Regions from separate parts of the Homo sapiens genome. Here region 2 is linked to region 1. The links are contacts of gene promoters, found by promoter capture Hi-C in blood cells and fetal thymus (Javierre and others, 2016). All regions are on one chromosome and are shown on one strand. Each heading gives the region's core, a stretch centred on a gene start or on the middle of the fragment in contact. The rest is flanking DNA. Distances are from core to core; before and after follow the strand shown. Region 1 holds the start of ASMTL (acetylserotonin O-methyltransferase like). Region 2 overlaps LINC03112 (long intergenic non-protein coding RNA 3112).

Evidence for each region. The method cuts DNA at HindIII sites, captures the fragments that hold promoters and counts their contacts. A CHiCAGO score of 5 or more calls a contact.
Region 2: a fragment that was not itself captured here is called in contact with the fragment with the promoter of ASMTL in region 1 in 2 of 17 cell types (total CD4 T cells and naive CD8 T cells); the score reaches 6.0 in total CD4 T cells.

The regions. Positions count from the first base shown.
Region 1 is chrX:1,450,052-1,454,225 of GRCh38, reverse strand. It overlaps ASMTL (acetylserotonin O-methyltransferase like), which reads left to right and starts at 1,317. Exons shown (of 13, transcript NM_004192.4): 1 at 1,317-1,478. The coding sequence starts at 1,386. The HindIII fragment of the contact is 27,509 bases long and covers 1-4,174 here.
Region 2 is chrX:2,579,003-2,582,740 of GRCh38, reverse strand. The region is part of intron 1 of LINC03112 (long intergenic non-protein coding RNA 3112); the gene reads left to right. Among named protein-coding and RNA genes, the nearest start is that of LINC03112, 28 kb to the left of the region's middle. The HindIII fragment of the contact is 1,869 bases long and covers 414-2,282 here.

The sequences.
Region 1 (4,174 bases), core at 68-2,567:
GTCCCCACGCCGCGCCCATCACCACGCCCGCGCGGATCCCCAGTGTCCACGCCCCTCCCACAAGGACCCCCACCTTCTCCACGCCCCTCCCACCAGGCACGCGGGGACCCCCCCCCCACCCATCTCCCCGCCCTTCCCACCCGGCCCGCGGGGACCCCCATATCCATACCCCTCCGAGCATTCTCGCGGGGACCCTCATCTCCAAACCCCTCCCACCATCCCCGCGGGGATCCCCATCTCCACGCCCCTCCCACCAGGCCCGTGGACACCCCCATCTCCACGCCCCTCCCACCAGGCCCGTGGACACCCCCATCTCCACGCCCCTCCCACCAGGCCCGTGGACACCCCCATCTCCACGCCCCTCCCACCAGGCCCGTGGACACCCCCATCTCCACGCCCCTCCCACCAGGCCCGTGGACACCCCCATCTCCACGCCCCTCCCACCAGGCCCGTGGACACCCCCATCTCCACTCCCCTCCCACCAGGCACGAGGACATCCCCATCCCCACGCCACTCGCACCGGGTCCGCGGGGAACCCCCTATCTCTACCTTCCCCGACGCGGCTCCCACAAGACCCCCATCTCTGCGCCGGGCCCCTCCACGTGCGGGTAAGAACCCCCCACCCCCACAACTGCCCACAACCGCAGCTGCGGAAACCCAGCATTTCCACTCCCCACGCCGCGCCTGCAAGGAACCCCAAGTATCCACGCCAGCCTTTCCTCCCCGGGACCCCGCAGCTGCCTGCGCCATTGCAGGTCTTGGCGCCGCAGGCGGGGTGGGGAGGGGCGGGGCGAGCGCCGGGGGCGGGGACGGGGCCCGGGAGGCGGAGCTGGGGGCGGTGCTTCACCAAGCGGCCGGGGCGGTGCCCGGGGGGGAGGCGGGCGGGGGTGTGGCCTGGGCGTGGCCTCACGGGGAGCTCAATGGCGGCGTGGCATGGGCGTGGCCTGGCGGAGAGGGCAAGGAGGTGTGGCCTGGGCGTGGCCTGGCGGAGCGGTCAATGGCGGCGTGACATGGGCGTGGCCTGGCGGAGAGGGCAATGGAGGTGTGGCCTGGGCGTGGCCTGACGGAGAGGGCAATGGAGGCGTGGTCTGGGCGTGGTCTCAGGGGAGATCAATGGGGCGTGACATGGGCGTGGCCTGGTGGAGAGGGCAATGGAGGTGTGGCCTGGGCGAGGCCTGACGGAGTGTTCAATGGAGGCGTGGCCTGGGCGCGGTCTCGCGGGGAGGCCACTGAAGGCGCGGACTGGGCGTGGCCTCGCGGAGGCGGGCGGGGGCGTGGCCTCGCGGAGGCGGGACTCTGGCCGCCTGTTTTTTTTGCAGCCGCGCTGCGCGCACCGCGGGCTCCGGGCTCAGAAGTGCGGACGCCCGGCTCCCGGCGTGGACGCCATGGTGCTGTGCCCGGTGATTGGGAAGCTGCTGCACAAGCGCGTGGTGCTGGCCAGCGCCTCCCCACGCCGTCAGGAGATCCTCAGCAACGCGGTACGGCCTGGGCCTGGGCGGGGCAGGGGACCGGGGACGGAGGGGCTGAACCCCGGAGGGCCCAGCGACTCAGGAACTCTAGGGATAGGGATGGGAGAGTGACCCGAGACCCTTAGGGATGGGGGAGGGGAGAGTGTCCCGGGACCTCCAGGGATAGGGTTGGGGAGAGTGACCCGGAACCTCTAGGGATGGGGGAGGGGAGAGTAACCCGGAACCCCCTAGGCATGGGGGTGGGGAGTGACCTGGGTCCCCATAGGGATGGGGGAGGGGATCGTAACCCGGGACCCCTAGGAATGGGGAGGGTAGAGTGACCCAGGACCGCTAGGGATGGGGACAGCAGAGTGACCCCGGAGCCCCATGGATGGGGATGAGGAGAGTAACCCGGGACCCCCAGGCATGGGGATGGGGAGAGTAACCCGGGACCTCCAGGGTTGGGGATGGGGAGAGTAAGCCGAGACCCCCCCTAGGGATGGGGGTGGGGGAGTAACCCGGGACCCCTAGGGATGGGGGAGAGGAGAGTAACCCGGGACCCCCAGGCATGGGGATGGGGAGAGTAAGCCGAGACCCCCAGGAATGGGGTTGGGGAGAATAACCCGGGACCCCTAGGGATGGGGTTGGGGAGAGTGACCCAGGACCCCCTAGGGATGGGGGAGGGGAGAGTAACCCGGGACCCCCCTAGGGGTGGGGGAGGGGAGAGAAACCCGGGACACCTTAGGGATGGGGTTGGAGAGAGTAACCTGTAACCTGGGACCCCCTAGCGATGGGGGTGGGGAGAGTAACCCAGGACGCCCTAGGCATGTGGTTGGGGAGAGTGACCCGGGACCCCCTAGGGATGGGGAGGGAGGAGTGACCCAGGACCGCTAGGGATGGGGACAGCAGAGTGACCCCGGAGCCCCATGGATGGGGATGGGGAGAGTAACCCGGGACCCCCAGGCATGGGGATGGGGAGAGTAACCCGGGACCTCCAGGGTTGGGGATAGGGAGAGTAAGCCGAGACCCCCCTAGGGATGGGGGTGGGGAGAGTAACCCGGGACCCCTAGGGATGGGGGAGAGGAGAGTAACCCGGGACCCCTAGGAATGGGGAGGTCAAGTGACCCGGGACCCCCCTAGGGATGGGGGTGGGGAGAGTGACCCGAAACCCCTAGGCATGGGGTTGCAGGGAGTGACCCAGAACCCCCTAGGAATGGGGATGGGAGAGTAACCTGGGACCCCCTAGGGATGGGGGAGGGGAGAGTAAGCCGGGATCCCCCTAGGGATGGGGGTAGGGAGAGTAACCCGGGACCCAAAAGGATGAGGGAGGGGAGAGTGACCTGGAACCCCTAGGCATGGGGTTGGGGAGAGTGACCCAGGACCCCCTAGGGATGGGGGAGGGAAGGGTGACCCGGGACCCCCAAGGAATGGGGAGGGGAGAGTGACCCAGGACCACCTAGGGATGGGGAAGGGGAGAGTAACCCAGGACCCCCTAGGGATGGGGGTGGGGAGAGTAACCCAGGACGCCCTAGGCATGGGGTTGGGGAGAGTGACCTGGGACCCCCTTAGGGATGGGGAGGGAGGAGTGTCCCAGGACCCCCTAGGGATGGGGAGGGAGGAGTGTCCCAGGACCCCCTAGGAATGGGGAGGGGAGAGTGATCCAGGACCGCCTAGGGATGGGGGAGGGGAGAGTGATCCGGAATCCCTAGGTATGGGGGAGGGGAGAGTGACCCAGGACCCCCTAGGAATGGAGAAAGCAGAGTGACCCGGGACCCCTAGGGATGGGGGAGGGGAGAATAACCCAGGACCCCTAGGGATGGGGGAGGGGAGAGTGAGCCAGGACCCCCTAGGAATGGGGAGGGCAGAGTGACCCGGGACCCATAGGGATGGGGGAGGGCAGAGTGACCCGGGACCCCTAGGGATGGGGGAGGGGAGAGTGATCCAGTACCGCCTAGGGATGTGGGTGGGGAAAGTAACCTGGGACCCCTAGGGTTGGGGGAGGGGAGAGTAACCCGGGAACCCTAGGGATGGGGGAGGGGAGAGTAACCCAGAACCCCTAGGGATGGGGTTGGGGAGTGTGACCCGGAACCCCCTAGGGATGGGGGAGGGGAGAGTGACCCAGAACCCCTAGGGATGGGGGAGGGGAGAGTGACCCAGAACCCCTAGGGATGGGGGAGGGGAGAGTGACCCAGAGCCCCTAGGGATGGGGGAGGGGAGAGTGACCCAGGATGCCCTAGTGATGGGGGAGGGGAGTGTGATCCAGGACCTCCTAGGGATAAGGGAGGGGAGAGTAATCCAAGACCCCTAGGAATGGGGGAGGGGAGAGTAACCCGGGACCCCCTAGGGGTGGGGGAGGGGAGTGACCTGGGACCCCTAGGGATTGGGGAGGTGAGTGACTCAGGACTTCTAGGGATGGAGTGGGCCCTGTGACTGATGGTTGGACTTTGTAGCTGGGGTATGGGAAGTGTTTCCTGGTGCCCCCATGAGGATCTTATTCCGGGTGGTAGGACGCCTAGGTAGTGGGTGTCTGCCTCTCTCTGGAGCCCTAATCACATGGAGGAGACGGTCTAGTGATGAAGGGATAGTTACTTGTGATGGGGGGTAGTTACTGGTGACAGGCGGATAGTTATAGGTGATGTGGGATAGTTACTGGTAATGGGGTGATAGTTACTGGTGATGGGATAGTTACTGGTGATGGGGGCATAGTTACTGGTGATGGAAGGATA
Region 2 (3,738 bases), core at 99-2,598, 1.1 Mb before region 1:
ACAGTGAGTGGTACTGCAGCACCTAACTCATGTCCACAGATGCCAGTGTCTGCAAAGGGTTGGGGAGGGAGCGGGGGGGCGTTAGGGGGAACAGACACCACTTTCAGGATAACAGATATGATTTGAGAAAATGAAAACATTTGCAAAGTCCCTCCACATTCTCCATTAAAATACATTCTCCTGGGACTCTGTGGCTGGGTGCGTGTATTACATCTCCCAAGATGCCAAGTTTGTCTCTGGAATTTGTTGCTTCTCCTCAGCCTGGCCCCCCAACTCCCAGCTCACATACCCAAATGTAGGACTTTTACATCTCAGTCCAAAAAGACTCTCTGACACCAGAACGGACCAATATTTTTGAAGTACTGCGTGTGCTCCAGGTATTAAATTAACTGAAAAGAAACGGGGTAGAAGCTTGATTATGAAAATCCAAAATAGGACGCTTTGCAAATTATTCCCGGCACAGAGGAAAAGCTACTGGAGCTTCACGCAAGCACATCCCACCCAGGGGGCCCAAAGTTACGCCAAGCACAAACCCACCGGGCTAGTCGAATAGGAAAAGGAAGATTTAATCCAAGAAGCCTGTTTCTCAGGTGAGGGTTTGGGAAGAAACAGGGTCGTGGAGTCAGTCACTCGCGGGGCTTGCCTGGGAACGATATGAAAATACAGTTGCAGCTGAAACTAGATGTGAGCCACTAACGAAGCTCACCCTAAACATGATAGCTGAAGTCCTGTTCACATCTGATGATTCCTTAGAGCTTGTACATTCTCAGCCTCTCTCGGATTATTTTTCTTATATAAAATTTCCATATTCCAATCGAGCACTGTTTATTCAATTTCCCAGAGAATGCCTTCTCATAAATTAGAAACTAGCCGTCTACATATTGATTCTATGAACGATTGCATTAAAATGCCTACTTAATAGTCACTACCATGTCTGCTGAAAGGCTCATCACCAAATGAGAACAAAACGCAGGGATTCAGAATTCAAATGGTAGGGCGCTCACGAAGTCACAAAGTGAACAGCTAATTAACGCTCTTGGAAAAGAACGCTCATCTCCATCACAGATAGTCTCCTTCCCCCAGATAGACAAGGCTAGAACCAGAAAGAAACCTTTAGACAAAAGGAAATCACAGTAACTCATGTCTGTGTAGCCTCCTGTGTGATCTACAAAAGACCTTCCCGTGAGGTGTTCCTCCAGATCTGCGCCACTGTCCTGGGAAGATGCCAGGTTGGTGCTAACATCCCTGTTTCAGGTCCACAAACCAAGGCAGGTAGAAGTGCTTCTTGCCCAAGGTCACGCAGTGAGTCAGTGCAGAGTTGTCACTGGAAGTGACACAGACTCCCACTTGGAGCTTTTGGCTAGAGATTGGGGGGCATTTCTTTCTACAAGTGTGACTCTTCTCTGTGGTCCTGTTTTATGTCCATCAGTGCACACTGACATCCATCAGTTCTCCAAGGGAGTGCTTAGATCATGGTGACCATTTGGGTATTTCTTTTCTTTCTTTTTTCCTTTTCTTTTCTTTTCTTTTTTTTTTTTTTTTTTTCTGAGATGGAGTCTTGCTCCGTCGCCCAGGCTGGAGGGCAGTGGCGCAGTCTCGGCTCACTACAACCTCTGCCTCCCAGGTTCAAGCGATTCTCCTGCCTCAGCCTCCTGAGTAGCTGGGATTACCGGCACGTGCCACCATGCCTGGCTAATTTTTGTATTTTTAGTAGAGATGGGGTTTCACCCATGTTGGCCAGGCTGGTCTCAAACTCCTAACCTCGTGATCCTCCAACCTCAGCCTCCCAAAGTGCTGGGATGACAGGTGTGGGCCACTGCTCCTGGCCCGTTTGGGTATTTCACACCTAAAGAAGATATGAGTATTAAAACAGCAGCATGATCCCTCAGGATGCTTTCCTGGAACCTAGAAAGATAAGCCCTGACTGGAAAAAAGGACAATCTCAGTGAAGCTGGGAAGAGCATGATGAGACAGAAACCTCTGCGCTATTATCTTAATTTTCTATGGACAACCCACACATGCAAGGGTGGTTATGATTACTGTCAAAAGACCTACAGTTTCCTATAAATAACAATTACACCTAATAGTTGCTGAGTGTTTTACTAAACACCAGATCTGGAGTGAAAATAATATTATATACATTGTATTTTACCCTCCTGACAGCAACATGAATATAATTAGTATCCCAATTACACAGAATGGAAAAATAAGGCTGGAAAAAAACAGGTTATGTAACTTCCCCAAGAATAAAAGAAAAAAACTCAATCATCAGTAACCAAGCTTTTACCAACGGACCTGTGGCACACATGTGTGTTTATGGGGTGTGTGTGTGTGTGTGTGTGTGTGTGTGTGTAAAATCTCACATCCATTGCAGTGATATTACACAAAAGTTTTAAATTATATTTCTACTTGCAACTCTCCTTTAGGGTTTAAAATTAATCATTCTCTTTAAAGTTTTTAAAAAATTGATTACAGAATAACTGCTAATTATCTGTTTCTAGACACTGCTCACACAGGTTTCCATTTTTAAAACTTTTTATGTATTTTTTTTTTAAAGACAGAGTCTGGCTCTGTCATCCAGGCTAGAGTGCAATGGTGCAATCTTGACTCTCTGCAACCTCCACCTTCTGGGCTCAAGCAATTCTCATGCCTCAGCCTCCCGAGTAGCTTGGACTACAGGCCTGAGCCACCATGCCCAGCTAATTTTTGGACTTTTTAGTAGAGACGGCATTTCATCATGTTGGCCAGGCTGGTTTCGAACTCCTGACCTCAAGTGATCCACCCACCTCGGGCTCCCAAAGTGCTGGGATTACAGGTGTGAGGCACCGCGTCCAGTCAATATATTTTATGTGTTCCAAACTGTAAAGATTTTTATGAGTCTTAAAAAAAAAAAAAATGAACCTTAAAGCGAAGCTGCTGAAAAAGTGGCCCTAAATGCATTTTTCTTGGGATCCCATATAGTGCAAAGACCCTCCTAAAATCTCCTTTACATGGTTTTGGCAGCTTCCAAACTTAAGGGGAAGGTCCCCCAAGGGGTAGAGAGGGCCTCCTGGAAACCTCAGCTTCTGTGCAAGAAGAGTTGAGGGAAGAGGGTAAATTCGATCTGTAATGAAGCTTGAGATGTAGCAAGACAAAACATCTAGACACCATAATGAGGGACATTTGGTGGCAGTGATGAGAGGGGGACGTGGTCAACTAGATGAGAGAGAATTTTCTCAAGCTGATCATTAAGGACAGGGTGAGCACAGCGGCTCACGACTGTAATCCCAGCACTTTGGGAGGCCAAGGTGGAAGGATCGATTGAGCCCAGCAGTTTGATACCAGCCTGGGCAACATAGTGAGACTCTATAAGAAAAAAAAAAAGCAGGGAGAGGGAGCGGACACAGTGGCTCACACCTATAATCCCAGCACTTTGGGAGGCCGAGGCGAGCAGATCACCTGAGGTTAGGAGTTCCAGACCAGCCTGGCCAACATGGTGAAACCCCGTGTCTACTGAAATACAAAAATCAGCCAGGCATGGTGGCACACATCTGTAATCCCAGCTACTCAGGAAGCTGAGGCAGAAAAATCGCTTGAACCCTGGAGGTGGGGGTTGCAGTGAGCCGAGATCGCGCCACTGCACCCAGCCTGGGCGACGGAGTGAGACGCCATCTCAAAAAAGAAAAAAAAGAACAGGCTGCCTCAGAAGTGGTCAGAGGTGTTTGTTTGCCTTGTTGTGTGTACTTCCCCAAGGGAAGT